5 separate regions of the Homo sapiens genome follow, and all the other regions are linked to region 4. The links are contacts of gene promoters, found by promoter capture Hi-C in human tissues and cell types (Jung and others, 2019). All regions are on one chromosome and are shown on one strand. Each heading gives the region's core, a stretch centred on a gene start or on the middle of the fragment in contact. The rest is flanking DNA. Distances are from core to core; before and after follow the strand shown.

The links. Contacts are between HindIII fragments. The study calls those that stand out against the background at their distance.
Region 1: a contact is called between a fragment that was not itself captured here and the fragment with the promoter of ISL2 in region 4, in 2 of the 25 tissues and cell types used here (lymphoblastoid cells and mesenchymal stem cells).
Region 2: a fragment that was not itself captured here is called in contact with the fragment with the promoter of ISL2 in region 4 in 2 of the 25 tissues and cell types used here (lymphoblastoid cells and small bowel).
Region 3: a fragment that was not itself captured here is called in contact with the fragment with the promoter of ISL2 in region 4 in 1 of the 25 tissues and cell types used here (lymphoblastoid cells).
Region 5: a contact is called between a fragment that was not itself captured here and the fragment with the promoter of ISL2 in region 4, in 2 of the 25 tissues and cell types used here (dorsolateral prefrontal cortex and lymphoblastoid cells).

What each region holds. Positions count from the first base shown.
Region 1 is chr15:77,002,301-77,006,102 of GRCh38, forward strand. All of the region lies in intron 1 of PSTPIP1 (proline-serine-threonine phosphatase interacting protein 1), which reads left to right. Among named protein-coding and RNA genes, the nearest start is that of PSTPIP1, 9.1 kb to the left of the region's middle. The HindIII fragment of the contact is 4,540 bases long and covers 1-3,802 here.
Region 2 is chr15:76,878,951-76,882,510 of GRCh38, forward strand. The region is part of intron 2 of SCAPER (S-phase cyclin A associated protein in the ER); the gene reads right to left. Among named protein-coding and RNA genes, the nearest start is that of SCAPER, 25 kb to the right of the region's middle. The HindIII fragment of the contact is 6,155 bases long and covers 1-3,560 here.
Region 3 is chr15:76,968,593-76,972,368 of GRCh38, forward strand. No RefSeq gene overlaps it. Among named protein-coding and RNA genes, the nearest start is that of PSTPIP1, 25 kb to the right of the region's middle. The HindIII fragment of the contact is 4,270 bases long and covers 1-3,776 here.
Region 4 is chr15:76,335,430-76,339,125 of GRCh38, forward strand. ISL2 (ISL LIM homeobox 2) reads left to right here and starts at 1,344. Exons shown (of 6, transcript NM_145805.3): 1 at 1,344-1,512; 2 at 2,349-2,538; 3 at 2,823-3,085. The coding sequence starts at 1,455. RefSeq lists enhancers at 1,079-1,373, 1,185-1,684, 1,378-1,427, 1,853-2,664. The HindIII fragment of the contact is 8,596 bases long and covers 1-3,696 here.
Region 5 is chr15:76,942,679-76,946,167 of GRCh38, forward strand. It overlaps RCN2 (reticulocalbin 2), which reads left to right. Exons shown (of 7, transcript NM_002902.3): 4 at 1,080-1,193. Among named protein-coding and RNA genes, the nearest start is that of RCN2, 13 kb to the left of the region's middle. The HindIII fragment of the contact is 3,320 bases long and covers 347-3,489 here.

The DNA of each region.
Region 1 (3,802 bases), core at 879-3,378, 670 kb after region 4:
TTGCTTCTACTTTAATTTGTGTAGGATGAAAGGATGCTTCCCTACATGTTAACACTGGTGTCTATGGATTTGGAAGTAGGATTCTCTCCATCCCCCATCTAATTTTCTGCAAGTCAATACAGAGTACCTTTGTCATTAAAAAGAAAATATTTAAAAAGAAAACTAAGCAATTCCTGCTTTCAAGAATGAGTTGGTGTTTCTAGGCCAAATTTGTGGTTTGCTAGCATGCCCTTTTCCACATGCTCGGTGCATATTTTGTGGTACGTGGGCCTCTGGGGACCAAGAACTTCGTTCATCTGTGCCCATTCCACAGGACGTGGCCGGCTGCTCAGGTGTTAGAAGATTGCAGAGGTTTGTGGTCATGCTTGCTTTGCTTTTGCGATGCCTGCAGATGGTCACTGCCAGGATTTGCTGGCTGCAGGGTTCTGGGTCGATTTGGTGTTCTGAATTCAATTTTATTCTTGATAAAAAACAAGATCTGCTTCTTGATGACCCACTTTGTGCTCCAGTCCCCTGGAACCCACATGCTTTTCCTGGCTGCTCCTGACATCTACACAGAACTAGGGCAGCCCCTGGGATGGAGAAGGAGGGCCTTGCTTTGGGCTTTGAAGGGTGGGTGAGGATTTGAGACATGTCAGGAGGACAAACGGCACTCAAGGTGGGAGGTACGGCATGGGCAAAGGTGTGGAAGGGGGTTTGGAAGACAGTTTTCTGGCCCAGAGCATTGTGCAAGGTGACTGGTAGGAAGGGAAGGCACGAGCTGGATTGTGAAAGGTCTCTGCCCTAAGTGGTGGCAGAGATACTTTCTTCTGCCTCTCTGCACCCTCTCTGGTGGTGGCTGTTTCCTCTCATGCAAAAGAGGACAGAGGCTGCGGGCTGTGAGTGGGATGCCCTTCCTCCTCACCCAGAGCCTGGCTGACGCTGCAAACCACATGATGGAGGGAACTTTGGGTGGAAACCAAGACTGCCTCTGCTTCCAGCTAGAGAGCATGATGCCCTGGGCCCTGGGCTGCCCACACCAGGACTCTCCTCTGGGTTGGCTCTGGAAGGTTCCTCCCTCACAGACTCAGTCATGCTCCATCCTCCAGGCTTAGAAGGAAATCGGCTTCTTGGGAGGCCGAGGCGGGTGGATCATCTGAGGTCAGGGGTTCGAGACCAGCCTGGCCACCATGGTGAAACCCTGTCTCTACTAAAACTACAAAAAAATTAGCGGGGCATGGTGGCGCATGCCTGTAATCCCAGCTACTCAGGAGGCTGAGGCAGGAGAATCGCTTGAACCCAGGAGGTGGAGGTTGCAGTGAGCTGAGGTTTCACAATTGCACTCCAGCCTGGGCAAAAGAACGAAACTCCGTCTCAAAAAAAAAAAAAGAAGAAGAAGGAAGCGGGCTTCTTTGAAGCCTCACCCAACCCTCACCCACACTTGCTAGGTGGCCTTGGAGAATCATTTTCCCTTTCTGAACCTCAGTTTCCTCATCTGCAGGATGTCAGGGTCGTCATCACTTAAGATAAGGGCTTTGAGGTTGGGGCGGCTCAGGGCAGTGCTAAGGGACCACCTCCTGCTCACCACAGTGGAGTAGCAGACCAGGAACAGTTCCCAGGGGACCCAGATTTATAATTGGATATGCACCCATAGGGTGAGCCTTATACATAGATCTTGCTGTTTCAGAATGCCTCCTCCAATCATGTTCACCATTGCATGTTATACTCCACCATTAGAGAATCATTCCTTTGGTTTCAAGTAACAAGATGATCTATGTTATCTCACTTAATTCCAACAATAGTCCTGTGAGGTCAGTATTCTTATTCCTGTTTTACAGAGAGGAAACTGAGCCTCTTGGAAGGAATGTGGGCCTGGGGGATGCCACACAGATGGATCGGACTGGGCTGGGCCTGGATGCCACCTTCCCAGGTCTGGGTCAGAGAGCCCTTTGCAGTTAATGGGAGGGTGTGTTGGTTTGCTGAGGCCTGGCACACTGAGCAATGGGTGATGGAACAGGCAGGAGAGCGACAGCTCCTTCCACTGGTGTTGACAGGCCACCCACCATTGGGCAACAGGAAGTGCCAGCTGGAGCCCTGGAGACCAGCAGCCAGTGTGGGGATGTGGTGGCCAGATGGAACTCAGGGCTTCCCAGCTGTGGAAACAGGAACGGGAAACAGCCACACTGGGGAGGAAGTCAGGGGGTGATGGGCTGAGGCAAGAGCATGCCTGCGTGGCTAGAGAGAGTGACCAAGGTGGAGAGTAGTTGGAGATAAGGTAAGAAATAGAACAGTGGCCAGGCGTGGTGGCTCACACCTGTAATCCCAGCACTTTGGGAGGCTGAGGTGGGAAGATCACTTGAACCCAGGAGTTCAAGACCAGTCTGGGCAACATGGTGAAACCACTTCTTAAAAAAAAAAAAAAGTACAAAAATTAGCTGTACCTGGTGGTGCACACCTGTAGTCTCAGCTACTTGGGAAGCTGGAGTGGAAGGGTCACTTGAGCCCAGGAGTTGGAAACTGTAGTGACTGTATGATCGCACCACTGCACTCCAGCCTGGGCAACAGAGCAAGACTGTCTCAAAACAAACAAACAAACAAACAAAAAAAACAAAGAAAGAAAAGAGAAGCAGAGAGCCAGATCTTGTAGGACTGTCATTCTAAAAAATCCCAATGCCCAGGCCACACCCCAGGTCAATTACACCCCGATTTCTGAGGGTAGGACCTGGACATCAGTATTTTTCAAAGTTCCCCAGTGCCTCCATGTGGAACTTTAGCTTGAGAGGCATCAACATAGATAATTGTGGTAATTAATTACCATTGCTGGCCAAGCATGGTGGCTCATGCCTATAATCCCAGCAGTTTGGGAGGCCAAGGTGGGCAGATCACCTGAGGTCGGGAGTTCAAGACCAGCCTGGCCAACATGGTGAAACCCTGTCTCTACTAAAAATACAAAAAATGTAGCCAGGTATGGTGGTGCATGCCTGTAATCCCAGCTACTTGAGAGGCAGAGGCAGGAGAATTGCTTGAACCTGGGAGGCAGAGGTTGCAGTGAGCCAAGATTGTGCCACTGCACTCCAGCCTGGGCAACAAGAGCAAACACTCAATATCAAAACAAAACAAAACAAAAATTACCATTGCTGACAATAGGCATACATCTGGTTTTTACCATTTTCCTGACCTCATTTGACTCACCTGAGTGAGCAGAGGTTAGAAGTTTTGGGGGTGGTGGTAATTATATGTAACATAAAATTGACCATTTTAACAATTTTTAAGTATATGATTCAGAGGCATTAAGAACATTCACTATTTCCTGAACTGCTTCATCATCCTGAACAGAAATTGTACCCATCAAACAATAACTCCCCACCCCTTCACCGCATACCTTGTTCTACCTCGATTCTACTTTCTAGCTCTATGGATTTGCCTATTCTAGGCATCTCCTGTAAGTAGAATCAGATAATATTTGTCCTTTTGTGTCTGGCTTATTTCAGTTAGCATAATGTCTTCAAGGCTCATCCATGTCATAGCATATGTCAGAATTTTCTTCCTCTTTATGACAAAATACTATTCCATTCTACGTATATACTTTATTTTGTATATCCATTGATCCATTGATGACCACTGGGCTGTTTCTTTGAGCTACTGTGAATAATGCTGCCATGAACATTGGTGTACAAGTACCTGTTTGAAACCCTGCTTTCAATTCTTTTAGATTATACCTAGGAGTGGAATTGCTGGATCATATGGTAATCCTATGTTTAACTTTTTGAGTAACCGCCAAACAGTTTTACATTCCCATCAGCAATGCAAAAGGGATCCAATT
Region 2 (3,560 bases), core at 881-3,380, 540 kb after region 4:
TTTTTAATAAATAAATGATTATACTGTGTACTGGTGAGGATCTGGGGCAACTCCTCCCATACACTACCGACAGGAAATGAAACTGGTAGCCCCACTTTGGAAATCTGGTATTATCTACAAATACATGACCTGGCCTCCAGTCTCAACTTGTACTATTCTTTTCCTTCTTTGCCATGCTCCAAAATCAGACTTTCATGCAGTTCCCCATAAGCACCAAGCTCCATCCTAATTCAGGACATTTACACAGAATTCTTCCTTCTGTATGGAATAGCCTGCCCCTCTATAATGCACATTTATTGGCTTCTTCCCTAGCATTCATTCTCTACATCCTCCTTTCCTAATAGTTCAATTTTTGTTGGGGTCCCTTGTGGTTCTAGGTAAGCACCTTTTGTCCCTAACTCCAGGGTGCAGCACATGACCTTGCCTAAGTCAATCTGCTCGCCTAGCCACAACAACTGATCCAGAGGTGAGCATGTGACCTAAGGTGATCAAAACTTAGGATCTCAGATCTTTTACTGGAATGTTAGAGAAAAGACTCTCCTACTGGCCATATGTTAGGGAATATACAGCTTTGGAAACTACTGCTAAGCATCTAGGGATCATAAAGACAGCAAGCCTTAAAATAATGGCAACAGAACAGAAGCCAGAGTAAGTGGAGGAAAAGCAATCAAATTTTTGATGACACTGTTGAGCCACTGGATCAATTCTTATCTGAAGCCAACTCTACTTGCTACTGAAAGCATTCTAAGAGAGTATTCCTCTTAGCCCAGCCAAAGCCTAATGATCTTTCGAATCCCAACTTAAATGTAACGTCCTAAGGCTAAGTTTTCTTCAACCCCGAGACTTGGCCAGGATTCCTTTTATATACTCAAACCAACTTGTACTCCTTTGTAACACTTAACCACAATTATATTTTAAATCATACACTTAATGTGTTTACTCTGTCTTCCATTAGACAGTAAGTTTCTGAAGGACTAGGTTTTGTTCACTATTCTCACTGTGTAGGATGGTGTCTGGCACATAAATATGTATGAATAAATGAATAACTGGCAGAATGATTTTTAAAAAGCATCAATAAATGAACATTATTGGGAAATGAGGTGTTCTACATAAATTGATAACTTAGGTTTGCCCCGCTAAGCACAAATTCTTTTTGGTTTTATTATTTTGTATGAAAATCTCTGAACACATTTCCTTGACCTCTGCGACAGAGGCTACTAAAGAAACTTACTCTTTTCTTGATAACTTCAGGTTACCACTATGAACACCAACTTCTATATGATACTATAATTTAATTATGCCTCAGGAGTTATAGAAATACAAAAGACAGTTGTCCTAAAATAAATGGGCACAGACAAAAGTGTTGTTAAAGATTTTTTAGTTCTTTACTTCCTGATGATTAAGAAGAACACAAAAGCTTAATTCTTAATTATTTTCTCCTCTTCCCTAACAAGCTATTAGCTGTCAATTCTTATTTGGTAGGCTTATGGGAAATGTACTATTACAGTTCTGAATAAGGAACTCAAGAATTCTGCAAGTACAGTGAATATACTTACAGTGTGTGGACTATCTGTTGTGTATGATCATAAGCATTTTTCATTTACTTTCAGGTTTTTGGACATATTCCTTAGAGTCACAATTGGCAGATAAGAAAAACTTTACTATATCTTACCTGCTAGAGTTTTAAAACAGAGATCAATAGGAAATAGTATGCAGCTATAAAAAGAAACGAAGATCTCTAACACTCTAGGATATATTGCTAAGTGAAAAGAAAAAAAAAAAACTCCCAAGATACTAAAATATATTACCTTTAGGTTCAAAAAAGAAAAACACATGTATATACATATAAATGTATACATTCATTTTGAAAATATAAAAGATAAATCAAACATTAAGAAAAACGATTACCCATGCACCCATTAAAATGGCTACCATCAAAAAAACAGAAAATAAAAAATGTTGGTGAGGATGTGGAAAAACTGGAACCCTTGTGCACTGTTGGTGGGAATTTTAAATGTTGCAGCCACTGCGGAAAACACTATGACAGTTCCTCCAAACATTAAAAATAGATTTACCATATTATCTACAAGTTCCACTTTTGGTTACGTACCCGAAATAACTGAAAACAGTTCTTTACTATTTTATTTATTTATTTACTTTTTGGAGACAGAGTCTTGCTCTGACACAAAGGCTAGAGTGTAGTGATATGATCATGGCTCACTGCAACCTCCGCCTCCTGGGTTCAAGCGATTCTCATGCCTCAGCCTCTCATGTAGCTGGGACTAAAGGTGCATATCACCATGCCAGCTAATTTTTTGTATTTTTAGTAGAGCCAGGGTTTCGCCATGTTGGCCAAGCTGGTCTCAAACTCCTGACCTCAAGTGAGCCAACTGGCTCGGCCTTCCAAAGTGCTAGGATTACAGGCGTAAGCCATTGCGTCTGGCCTGAAAACAGTCTTGAAGAGATATCTGTACACCCATGTTCATAGCATCAACATTCACAATAGCTAAAAAGGGGAAACAGCCCAAGTGTCTGATGAATGGATAAGCAAAACGTAATATATTATTATTATTTATTTATAACAGAATATTATTCAGTCTTAAAGAGGAGGGAAATCTGACATATGCTACAACATGGATGAACCTTGAAGACATTATGCTAAATGAAATAAGCCAAACACAAAAAGACAAATACTGGATGATTTCACTTATATGTGGTACATAAAGTAGTCAAAATCACAGAGACAGCAAGTGGTACAGGAGCAGGGGGTGAAGGGAAATGGGAAATTATTGTTTAATGTATAGAGTTTCAATATTTCAAGACAAGGAGTTCTGAAGATGAATAATAGTGATAGCTGCACAACAATATGAATGTACTTAATACCACTGAACTGTATACTTAAAAATGGTTCAGATGGTAAATGTCATGTTATTTGTATTAGCACAATTTAAAAAAATTAATGTTACCCACAAGGGAAGAAGAGGAAGAAGAGAGAAGAAAGCTGAATTTCTCTAAATGAACACTGTTTTATAGTTTGAATTTTGAACCATGTAAATGCTGCATATGCTATTAAATTAAAATTAAATCAAAGGAAAAAGAATTCCCTAAAAATCAAAAAGAAGCTGAGGACAGTGGAATCTCTTTTGTCAAGATACTAAGAAAGACCAGGCATAGTAGCTCATGCCTGTAATCCCAGCCCTGTGGAAGAAGGCCAAAGCAGGAGGATCACTTGAGGTCAGGAGTTCAAGATCACCTGGGCAACAAAGCAAGACCCTATCGCTACAAAAAAATTAAAAATAAAAAACTGGCATGCACCTATAGTTCCAAGCTACTTAGGAGGCTGAGGTGGGAGGACTGCTTGAGCCCAGGTGATAAAAACTGCAGTGAGCTATGATTGTGCCGCTGCACTCCAGACTGGGTGACAGAGAGACTCTGTCTCCAGAAGAAAAAAAAAAAGATATTAAGAGAAAAAAAATCTGTCAACCTAGACTTCTATCCCCTCTAAGACCATTTTTCAAAATTAGGGCAGATTAAAAAAAAAGAAATCTTCTGGCAAACAA
Region 3 (3,776 bases), core at 713-3,212, 630 kb after region 4:
GAAAATCACAGCCCAGGTTCTAAAGGCCTCATCTTCTTTAAAAAAAAAAAAAAAAAGAAAAGAAAAGAAAAAAGAAAGAAAGAAAATCACAGCCTGGAAATCCGTGAATTGACACTGATAAGTTCACACAGGCTATACAGTTAGCCAGGTGAAGAAAAGAAGGATACCAAGCCTTCTAAGCAGAGAGTAGAGCATGTGTGGGCAGCCCAGAGTCAGGGAAGTGTGGGCTTCCTCCTTGGTAGAGAGGGGCATGAGAGGTGCTGGGTAGAGAGGGCCAGAATGTTATAGGAAAGGCATCCTGATCCAGACCCCAAGAGAGGGTTCTTGGATCTTGCACAAGAAATAATTCAGGGTAAGTCCGCAGTGCAATGTAAAAGCAAGTTTATTAAGAAGGTAAAGTGGTGAAAGGACGGCTACTCCATAGACAGAGCAGGACGTTCCCGAAAGTAAGAGGAGGAAGGCGTCCACCCTGGGTACAATGCTTGTATATATGGAGAGATGTGCTCTGCTACAAGGGTTTGTGATAAAGGATTAATTTTCTTAATTATGATATTTTGCAAGAATTGATATTATTATCTTTAAAGCAAAATTAGGAATGCCTGTGTTCTCCAGATATCAGGATATCTGGACATTCCCGTCTGGGTCTGTTTAGTAAACATTATTAATTTTTTCCCTTAACTGTAAATATCTAGAGGCCAGGAATGCCTGACTTTCTGAGAATGCAGCCCAGCAATTCCCAGCCCCATTTTCCTAGCCCTTACTCAAAATGGAGTCGCTCTGGTTCGAATGCCTCTGACAAGAAGATAGACCAATATGAGGGGCCAGGCAGGTCTGGTGGGTGCTGTCTGTCAAGCTGAATTTGGACTTTATCCTATGAATGATCAAAAACTGTTGATGGGTTTTAAGCAGGGGAGAGTCTTGACCACATTGGTAATATAGAAAAACTCTGTGAAATAAGGATGTACAGGATTTGCATCTAAAATGAACTCAGATCAAAATACAAAAGGCAAGCCTGCCGTGGTGGCTCACATCTGTAATCCCAGCGCTTTGGGAGACTGAGGTGGGTGGATGACTTGAGGCCAGGAATTGGAGACTAGCCTGGCCAACATGGTGAAACCCTGTCTGTACTAAAAAAATACAAAAATTAGCCGGGTATGGTGGCGCGTGCCTGTAGTCCCAGCTATTCACAAGGCTGAGGCAGGAGAATCACTTGAACCCAGGAGACAGAGGTTGCAGTGAGCCCAGATCAAGCCACTGCACTCCAGCCTAGGCGACAGAGCAAGACTCTGTCTCAAAACAAAACATAATCAAAAAAGGCAATTAGTTGCAGGACTATTTGTAATGAGAAACAGCCCAAATGTCTGTCAATAGGCTGGCTGAATGAACTATGGTACAGCCATGCCAAGAAGTACTAGGTAGCTGGAGAAAGAAGTGAAGACTGTTTCCATATAGAATATATCATTAAGAAAAGGAATGTGTGTCTCACAGTTCTCTAAGGAAGGCAGGGATGCAAATATATAAACATGTAAATGTATCTGCTTATATTTAAAAGCACACAAGCAATGGAAGGATAAAGCAATGAAAAGTGGCTACCTGTAGGAGGAGAGAGGGAGCAGAACGGAAGAGATAGAGATGGAAGCTGGACTTATTTGAAGATAGCTTGTTTTGTACATGTGACTTTGGAACTGAGTAAATATTTCATAAAAGTAAAAAAATTACATAAAAATGAATCCCCCCAAAAAGAAGCAAATAAACATAATGTGCATCTGGTTGGTGGAGTCAGCACACAGATGAACTGTTCTAAACACAGTAATTTGACTGTACAACCCCAAAAGGATATAGCCTGAAGACAAAAAGAACTGCAAATACACAAACGAAAATCTTAAATTGTTTTCAGCAGTCACTTGGCTGATGGGAGACTTGGTATTGGTGTTCTGAGACTGTTGTGTGCAGTGTGGAATGAAGCAAATGAGAAATTATGTGAAATTCTAATTCTGGAATTCCTGGTGTTTTTGAGAAATGAGATTCTGGACATGGGAGAAAGGAGGTACAGATGGAAGAAGGAAGAGGTTGTGCAAACACCCTGTAGACCTAAATTTAATTGAAAGTATCAATATGAACTTATGATGTGCCTTATATTTATATTGAGAAAAAATGTATTTCCTAGTTCTGACCTCAGAAAAGACCTAAGAACAATAAGCATTTCAGTAGCTATGAGCACCCCAGTACCTAGATTATCTTCTTGAAATATACCCAGTAAAAGAACTAGTGTTCCCTGAAAAAGTGATTGATTCCAGGTCTGAGACAGGAAATGGACAACAGGTGACTGGAACATTGGCCATATCAGATGGCAAGAAAGTTCTCTAAGACAGCTAGGGTGGTGTCCAAAGGACTCAGGAGTCAACTTGAAGAGGCCCCCTCTGGCCAAAGATGGGACCATTTTTGCATCAATAAAGGCAAAAATTGCAATGGATTGAAGCACATCAAATATGTTTAACTCCATGAGTTCATAATGATACTAAAACATATCTAATTGGTCACCTTTGGAGTATTCGGTGGTTCATAAACTGATAAAGAGAAATAATTGAGCATTTATCCCGCCTATACTGTACAAACTACTACTGGGTAACCAAATAGTAGATAAGGAGACGTTTCTCTTTATAGAAGTAATTCAGCTCGTAAATCAAGAAGAAATGGTAGAATTAGAATATTGCCATGTGGCAATCCCTAATTAATGGATAGTGGCACTGATCAGCAATGTCTGCTAATATCACAAATTGAGATAACCAGACCTCATAGGCCTCCTATGAAGTATTCTTGCCAAAAAATTGGACCTGAATCTAGATTCAAATGGCAATTTACAGGAAATACAGGAGATAGAAGAAAATATTAAAGGACACAATGGATATGCAATCAGTCATTCTATACTGTGGGAAGCTCTACAGGATAAATGATCTAGTTTCTTTCTTTCTCTTTTCTTTTCTTTGTTTTTGAGACAGGGTCTCGTCTGTCACCCATGCTGGAGTGCAGCAGCATGATCACAGCTCACTGCAGCCTCAATCTCCCAGACTCAAGTGATCCTCCTGCCTCAGCCCCCCTGAGGAGCTGGGACTACAGGTGCACACCACCATACCTGGCTAATTTTTGGTTTTGTTTTTTGGCAGAGACAGGGTTTTGCTATGTTGCCCATGCTGGTCTCAAACTCCTGGGCTCAAGTGATCCACCCTCCTCGGCCTACCAATTTCTGGGATTACAGGTGTGAGCCACTGCACTGGGCCTTATTATCTAGTTTCTTAAACAAATAGGCTGTAAAGAAAAACAGACAGACATGTAAAGGAAACTGATAGTTAAAAGAATCACAACCTGCAAAACTTATTTAGATCAAGATTCAAACAATCTGAACAGAATAAAATAATTTTTTGGTGACATATGAAACACAATTAGAAATTTGAACACTGGCTGAATATTTGATTATATTAAAATTATTGTCAATTGTTTTTAAGTGGGATATTGTGGCTATGATTATTTTCAAGAGTTTTAAAGGGAGAAGAAACATAAATACTTCTCAAAACTCTCTTCAAAATCATCTTCCTTCACCAGTTTCCTCTCTGCTTAGAATAAGCTTGTTATTTCAAACTCAGGGCCAATGCAATGTGAAGATGAAAAATAATTTGGGGAGCAAAATATATCGTGGATATACATATGTAAAAATATAGTATGTATACTTACATTCCCAGTTAAGTATAGTATTCCTAAGTCAATTTATAGAATTTTCA
Region 4 (3,696 bases), core at 94-2,593:
GGCAGGGTCTGGAATGGCGGTGGAGACACTTTATCCGCAGGCGTTTCACCTCGCGCCCCACCCAGGCGCACACCAAGTTCTTGGTACTCCTTTTAATGGGAAAACAAGAACAGACACCATGGTTGGATAAATGTTATTTATAATTCATGGGCCGGTCTTTGAACCCTTTCAAACAAAACCCACAGCGATTTCTTTGAAAGAATGCCTGGACTGTGCTCAGAGCTCTCAGATTTTCTCAGGACCAACGAGCCGCCGCCTCGCAGATACCACTGTAAATTACCCAGCGCCTTACGTTCGTTTCTGATTATTTGCATTGCAGTGGGTTTGTTAATGAAGGACAAGAGTTTAGAAAAATCTTTTATTTTGGAAGTTGGACACGCAATCGACCCCAGCAGTGTTCCTAAAAGGAGCTATGCCATTTGGATGGGGGAAAAATGAGGGGGCGGGGAAGTCCATGTTACATTTAAAACAACAACAGCAACAAATTAAAAGCAAAACAAAACAACAAAAAAAAGGAAGTGGAGCAGGAGGAGGAGGTGGTGGTGGAGGAGAGGGAGGAGGGGCAGCAGCAGCGGCAGCAGCAGCAAGGATGGAGTCAGGACCCGTCCCAGTCCCGGGTGAGCGCTTTTGGATCTGGGTTCTGGCTCAACCCACGTAATGCCCCAATCTAAAGTTTTCTACGTGTGTGTGGATAGGAAAGTCTAAATAGAGTTTATCAGAACCCAGGTGGTCATTCTCTACACTCTCTCTAGCTTGGACCCGAAGAACAAAGGCACATGAGAGGAGAAAGGTGACCAGCTGGACGATGACGGTCACGTCCAAACGGATCCCCCTTGTCCTCGGCTCTCTCGTCCTGAGAGTGGGTTTAATTTTTTTTTTTTTAATTTATATAAGAAGGGAGCTCTTAAAGGAGAGCCATCTCCACCCTCAGGTATCCATCACCCAGCTCCAGCGCGCCTGGGAAAACCGCCCCGAAAGTCCAAGAGGAAGCTCAGAGTTGTAACGGCCGCGGAGCCAGCTCGGCGGTGACGCAAGGTCCAGTCCAGATTGCCAGGCCCGGGGCATGAGAGAGGATCCTTGTAGGTTTCGGAGGTGGGGGGGCTGCACTCCATTGTTCACTCCGGGCCAATCAGGGTTGGCCCACTTCCTCCCAGCCAATCTCCCTTCACCCCCAGCCTCCAACCCAACCCACCCCGCCCATCAGCCCCTGGATCCCCATCACCTCCCCCGCATCCCCGGCAGTTCTGGGGAAGCTTCGTGACGCCACAGGTCCCGCCCCCAGCTCCGGCCCGGGGCTAGTGCGTGTTGACGTCATGCTGCGTGCGGGCCGGTGCGGAATCGCTCCTTCAACTCCGCGGGGCAGTAGGAGTTAGTTAGCAAAGAGCCGAGGCCGGGCGCGCGACCCTCGTCCTTCTGCCCCTGGCCGCACACTTTGCGCACATCTCTTTTTCTGCATGGTGGATATTATTTTTCATTATCCTTTTCTGGGTGCTATGGGTGATCATTCCAAGAGTAAGTATTTCTGTGTGTGTGTGGGGTGGGGTGTGTGTGTATGCTTAATATGCAAAATTTCTAATGCAGAAAAATGTTTAGTGGATTCTACAAGTGGCTTCTATTTGTCAGAATAGTTTAGGAGAGGAAAAACGAATGCATGTCTCCTGCAGGACTGCTTATCTTTGGGAATCCTGTTGTTTTATTTTATAAGTAAACACTATTTCTCAAGCCGGCTAGGATGACTTCGGGCTGCGAAATCTGCTTCTGTTTTGCGCAAAGGCAATTAGGTTTGATTTAGGGATGTGGGTTTTTTTTTTTTTGGTTGTTGTTTGTTTGCCTTTCGGTTTTTCAAAGCTAGGAAGCTTTCTTTCGCTTGCTCTGGGATATTTAAACTAAGAAATGTCTGAGAGGATGAGCGGGGACTGCCGAAAGACGATGTGTCTGTGTTGGGATAGGAGGCAGCCGCTGTGAGTGGGAGTGTGTGAGCGGAAATGCCAGGACAGCACCGTTAGGTGTTGATATCCAGGCGTCCGCAGTGCCTGTGTATTTACTCTCTTCTTAGTTTCGTGTTTGCGTTTAGTTTCAAGACACGTCGACAAAACGACTGTCATTAATGAATGTAATAACGAAATATTTGGGGTGGGGGACAGAAGAAACCTTCAGCAATCCACAAGATACTGGTTTTTCGTTTCCAATGCCCTGGACCTTTAGAGAGCTCATCATCTTTCCTTATGGTCGCAAGTCTTGAAAGAAAGAGCAAGAGAGCGAGCGGGTTGGGTTGGGGCTGGAGTAGCCGAGGCCGGCCTGGGTCCGGGCAGTCAGGCCTGACGCGGCCCCGCGCCCTTCCCCGGCAGAGAAGCCCGGGACGGCCATGTGCGTGGGCTGCGGGAGTCAGATCCACGACCAGTTTATCCTGCGGGTGTCGCCCGACCTCGAGTGGCACGCGGCCTGCCTCAAGTGTGCCGAGTGCAGCCAGTACCTGGACGAGACGTGCACGTGCTTCGTGAGAGACGGGAAGACCTACTGCAAGCGGGACTATGTCAGGTGAGGCCGGCGGGAACGCGGGCTGGGCCACCGCGCGCAGGGGCCGGGGCCGGGACTGGGGATGGCGGCCTGCCCGCGCGCCCCGGCCCTGCCCAGGGAGAAGGCCATCCGCATCCCGCACGGGTGCCGCAGCGCTCCCCCGGGCCCGGGAATGCCCGCAGGCGGGTCACCGCAGTCTCCTGGTGGCCACAAAGTGTCCTGGGCGCGCGCCGGAGCCGTAGCAGCCAGGGAGATGAGGGCGGCCGCAGGCCCAGCGCTGACACCGCCGCACCTTGGGCCCGCAGGCTGTTCGGCATCAAGTGCGCCAAGTGCCAGGTGGGCTTCAGCAGCAGCGACCTGGTGATGAGGGCGCGGGACAGCGTGTACCACATCGAGTGCTTCCGCTGCTCCGTGTGCAGCCGCCAGCTGCTGCCTGGGGACGAGTTCTCGCTGCGGGAGCACGAGCTGCTCTGCCGCGCCGACCACGGCCTCCTGCTCGAGCGCGCCGCGGCCGGCAGCCCGCGCAGCCCCGGCCCGCTTCCCGGCGCCCGCGGCCTGCATCTGCCCGGTAAGCGCGCCGGGGCCTGTGCCGGGGTGAGCGGGGTGTATGTGCGTGCGTGTGTGTAGGGGTACGCTTGTGTCCCTAACGAGAAGTTGTCAGTTGTGTGTGGTTCCGTCTGCCGGGATAGTGTTTTTCTGTATCAGTGCGGAACTGTGTGCTGGGAACAAGGCTGTGTGTATTCTCGTGTGCTCGGGAGAAACTGCGTGTGTATGAGTGTGTGAGCACGGAGAATTGTGCAGAATCGTGTTCTCCATGACCAGGAACATGCAGGGCACAGTGCTAGGAGCAGAAGAGTGGATGACAACAGGGAATCTTAAGTGGTGTCCGTCTTGGGGCTTGTATTAGGAATTTCTTGGAGGAATATGTGTTATTGTCAGAGGGTAAGGTTTGCCCAGGGGTATGTGTGTAAGTAACACAGCTCCAAACTGGGAGCTGGGCAGGAGCTTGGTCAGCCAGGAGCCAAGAACCCAACAAAGAGGGGTTTTTGCCATCTTGTTTTGAGGCCCAGTTTGATGAACAATTTAGCCAGGTTCTTCTGGGGGAGGGGGAGTATCAATGCATAGTGGACTGTCACTGGAATATTCTGGGTCCTAATCAGCAGCTGCCCAGAGATGGGG
Region 5 (3,489 bases), core at 757-3,256, 610 kb after region 4:
TGCCTGTAGTCCCAGCATTTTGGGAGGCTGAGGCAGGTGGATAGCCTGAGCTCAGGAGTTTGAGACCAGCCTGGGCAACATAGTGAAACCCCATCTCTATCAAAAATACAAAAAATTAGCTGGGTGTGGTGGCACATGCCTGTGGTCCCCACTACTTGGGAGGCTGGGGTGGGAGGATCACTTGAACCTGGGCGGTGGAGGTTTCAGTAAGCCGAGATTGCACCACTGTACTCCAACCTGGATGACGGAGTGAGACCTCATCTCCCCACCCCCCAAAAAAGAAAAGATTTCCAAATATTAGGTACATATACTAATATTATGAGATTCTCAACATAAGAAGACTGTTTTTCTGAAACAATAATGTATTTTTGAAAAGTCACTTAGAGGACCAGAAACATTTTTTAAAAGCCCTACCAAGATTTAATACATGGTATAAAGTTATTGATTTTTGGGCATTCAAAAAAGTATTGAGATTAATTATTAAAGTAGACAGTATAGTACTGTAGAAAGAATAGGGAGGATCCAAGTTCAGTAGTTTTGTTTGTTTTTTGAGTCAGGGTCTTGCTATGGTGTGAAGGCTGGCCTTGAACTTCTGGGCTCATGCAGTCTTCCCAAGTTGCTGGAACTACAGGCGTGCGCCACTATGCCATGCTCAGTATTTTTTAGCTGTATTTCTGACTTTTATCAAATCATTCAATCTGCTTTTCTATCAATAATAGTATATAACACTAAATACTTAAGGTTTATTAATGGTGTGGTAGGGATTCTCATCCCAATTGCTTATTAGAGATTTTTATCCCAGTTTGATAGATGAGGAAACCAGAGAGGTTAAGCAGTTTGCGCTGACACCACAGCTAGTAAGTGGCATTGCTGGAATTCAGGTCTGGGTCTATATGACTCTAGAGCTTGTGAGTCTATCCTGCCCCTAATACATGTATTTGTGTAGCTTACCTTCAAAGGGACGATGTGAAGATAAATGAGATAACGGATGGGAATGTACTTTAAATTTCACATAGTTTGTATTTTTCAAAGTATTTAAAATGATGTGGTATACTAATGAGAAATTTTAATTTTCAAAGCTTCACTTAAAGGACAAGAAGCGATTTGAAAAAGCTAACCAGGATTCAGGTCCCGGTTTGAGTCTTGAAGAATTTATTGCTTTTGAGCATCCTGAAGAAGTTGATTATATGACGGTAAGAAAGAAACATTTTTAAGAGAATTATTGAGTGACCAAAACTTTAAAAAAATATATTTAAAATTTTTGTGGGTACATAGTAGGTATATATGTTTATGGGATACATGAGACTTTTTTTTTTTTTTTTTTTTTTTTTTGAGACGGAGTATCGCTCTGTCGCCCAGGCTGGAGTGCAGTGGGGCGATCTCGGCTTACTGCAAGCTCCGCCTCCCGTGTTCACGCCATTCTCCTGCCTCAGCCTCTCTGAGTAGCTGGAACTACAGGCGCCCGCCACTACACCTGGCTAATTTTTTGTATTTTCAGTAGAGACGGGGTTTCACCGTGGTCTCAATCTCCTGACCTCGTGATCCGCCCGCCTCGGCTTGCCAAAGTGCTGGGATTATAAGCGTGAGCCACCGCGCCCGGCCGAGATGTTTTGATACAGGCATGCAATGTGAAATAATCAGATCATAGACAATGAGGTATCCATCCCCTCGAACTTTTATCCTTTGTGTTACTAACAATCCCGTGAACACTCTTTTAGTTATTTTAAAATGTATAATTAGTTACTACTGACTATAGTCAACCCTGTTATGCTGTCAAATAATAGATCTTATTCATTCTTACTGTTTTTTTTGTACTCATTAACTGTTCTCAGCGCCCCCTCCCCCAACACTTCCCAGTCTCTGGTAACCATCTTCTACCGTCTATGTCCATGAGTTCAATTGTTTTGATTTTTAGATCCCACAAATGAGTGAGAACATGGGATGTTTGTCTTTCTGTGCCTGACTTATTTCACTTAATATGATCTCCAGTTCATCCATGCTGTTGTGTGGATCAACATGTTGTTGCAGGATCTCTTTCTTTTTTATGACTGAATAGTACTCCATTGTGTATATGTACATTTTCTTTATCCATTCATCTGTTGATGTACGCTTGGGTTGCTTCCAAATCTTGGCTTTTGTGAACAGTGCTACAACAAACATGGGAGTGCAGATATTTCTTTGACATAGTGGTTTCCTTTCTTTTGGGTATATACCCAGCAGTGGGATTGCTGGATCATATGGTAGCTCTATTTTTAGTTTTTTGAGGAACCTCCAAACTGTTCTCCATAGTGGTTGTATGAATTTACATTTCCAAGTAACCAAAACTTTAAAACCTGTTCATTAAGTTGTTAAAATGAATTGTATAACCAGAATTTTAAGAGATACACAGATTTAAAATGATGCTCATTCTCCCCACTTAAAATTAGGCTTGGTAAGGAGGCTTTCTTGTGGTGACGAAGTTGCTTATTGGGAGGGAGAAGGTGAAAGACTGAATTTTTAAATCTCTGTACTATGTATGAACAGCAGGCTTCCTCAGGCTATTTTCTCTCATAACTGTGTTACCTTCAGTGCCTTCCTTATCCTTTTGTAGCTTTCAGATTTTTTTTGGTTTTTCAATGTTAGTAATATTAGGATTTCTGTTTAATTTACAACATCACTTATGAAAGCTTTTGGTCTGGAAAAACATCATGTTTGGATTCTTCATAGGGTTGGTAGGGGTGCAGCTGCTAGTTAACTAGTAATGTTTTTGCAATTTTAAGTATAATGAGTCCTCTCATCCCTTTAATATTTAAAATAAGTACCAGTTTTTCAAAACTTTTGTTGAATTGTAAGTTTAACTCAACAAACATAAATTGAGTCCCTATTATGACTTGGCCAAGCTTGAAAGCATAAACCATCACACTGGGAAATAAAGACTAATGTAACAAATAGCTTTTTAAAAAAGAGACTAAACATTTATATTGAAGTCTGTTGCATGACATCAGCCTCCAGCTACGTGGCTTGGTTCCCTGGATATTTCAAAGAAGGAAGATATATCTTTTTGTTTAATGTGTCATGGTAGACCCTGCTGCCTTGCATAACAAGGCTGCAGATACATTTTTCTCCATAGCTCAGTGGTAAGACACTGTCATTAATACCACTTCTCTTGCCATTGTGAAGCTTCTAATTTCTCATTGGCACAGAATACATGACCCAGTTTAAGAACAGTGCTGGGTGTAATTTAAGTACCAAAATTAAGTTGGGAAAAGCTAATTGAGCCCAAGAATGACAGGCAAAGGATGCTAGATCTTGATTCTCTGGAGAATAAGGAACAATTGAAGACTAAAGAGGGGAATTACCAGTAAAAGCAATGAAATAATTTAGGCATAATGTGATACGGCCCAGAGTTCTATCTGGCAATTGAATGAAATAGATTTGAGCAACATTTTGAAGAAAGCATATGCAGGAATGTTGACTTACTAAATAAGTGTTAAGGGAAGGCAAGAGTCA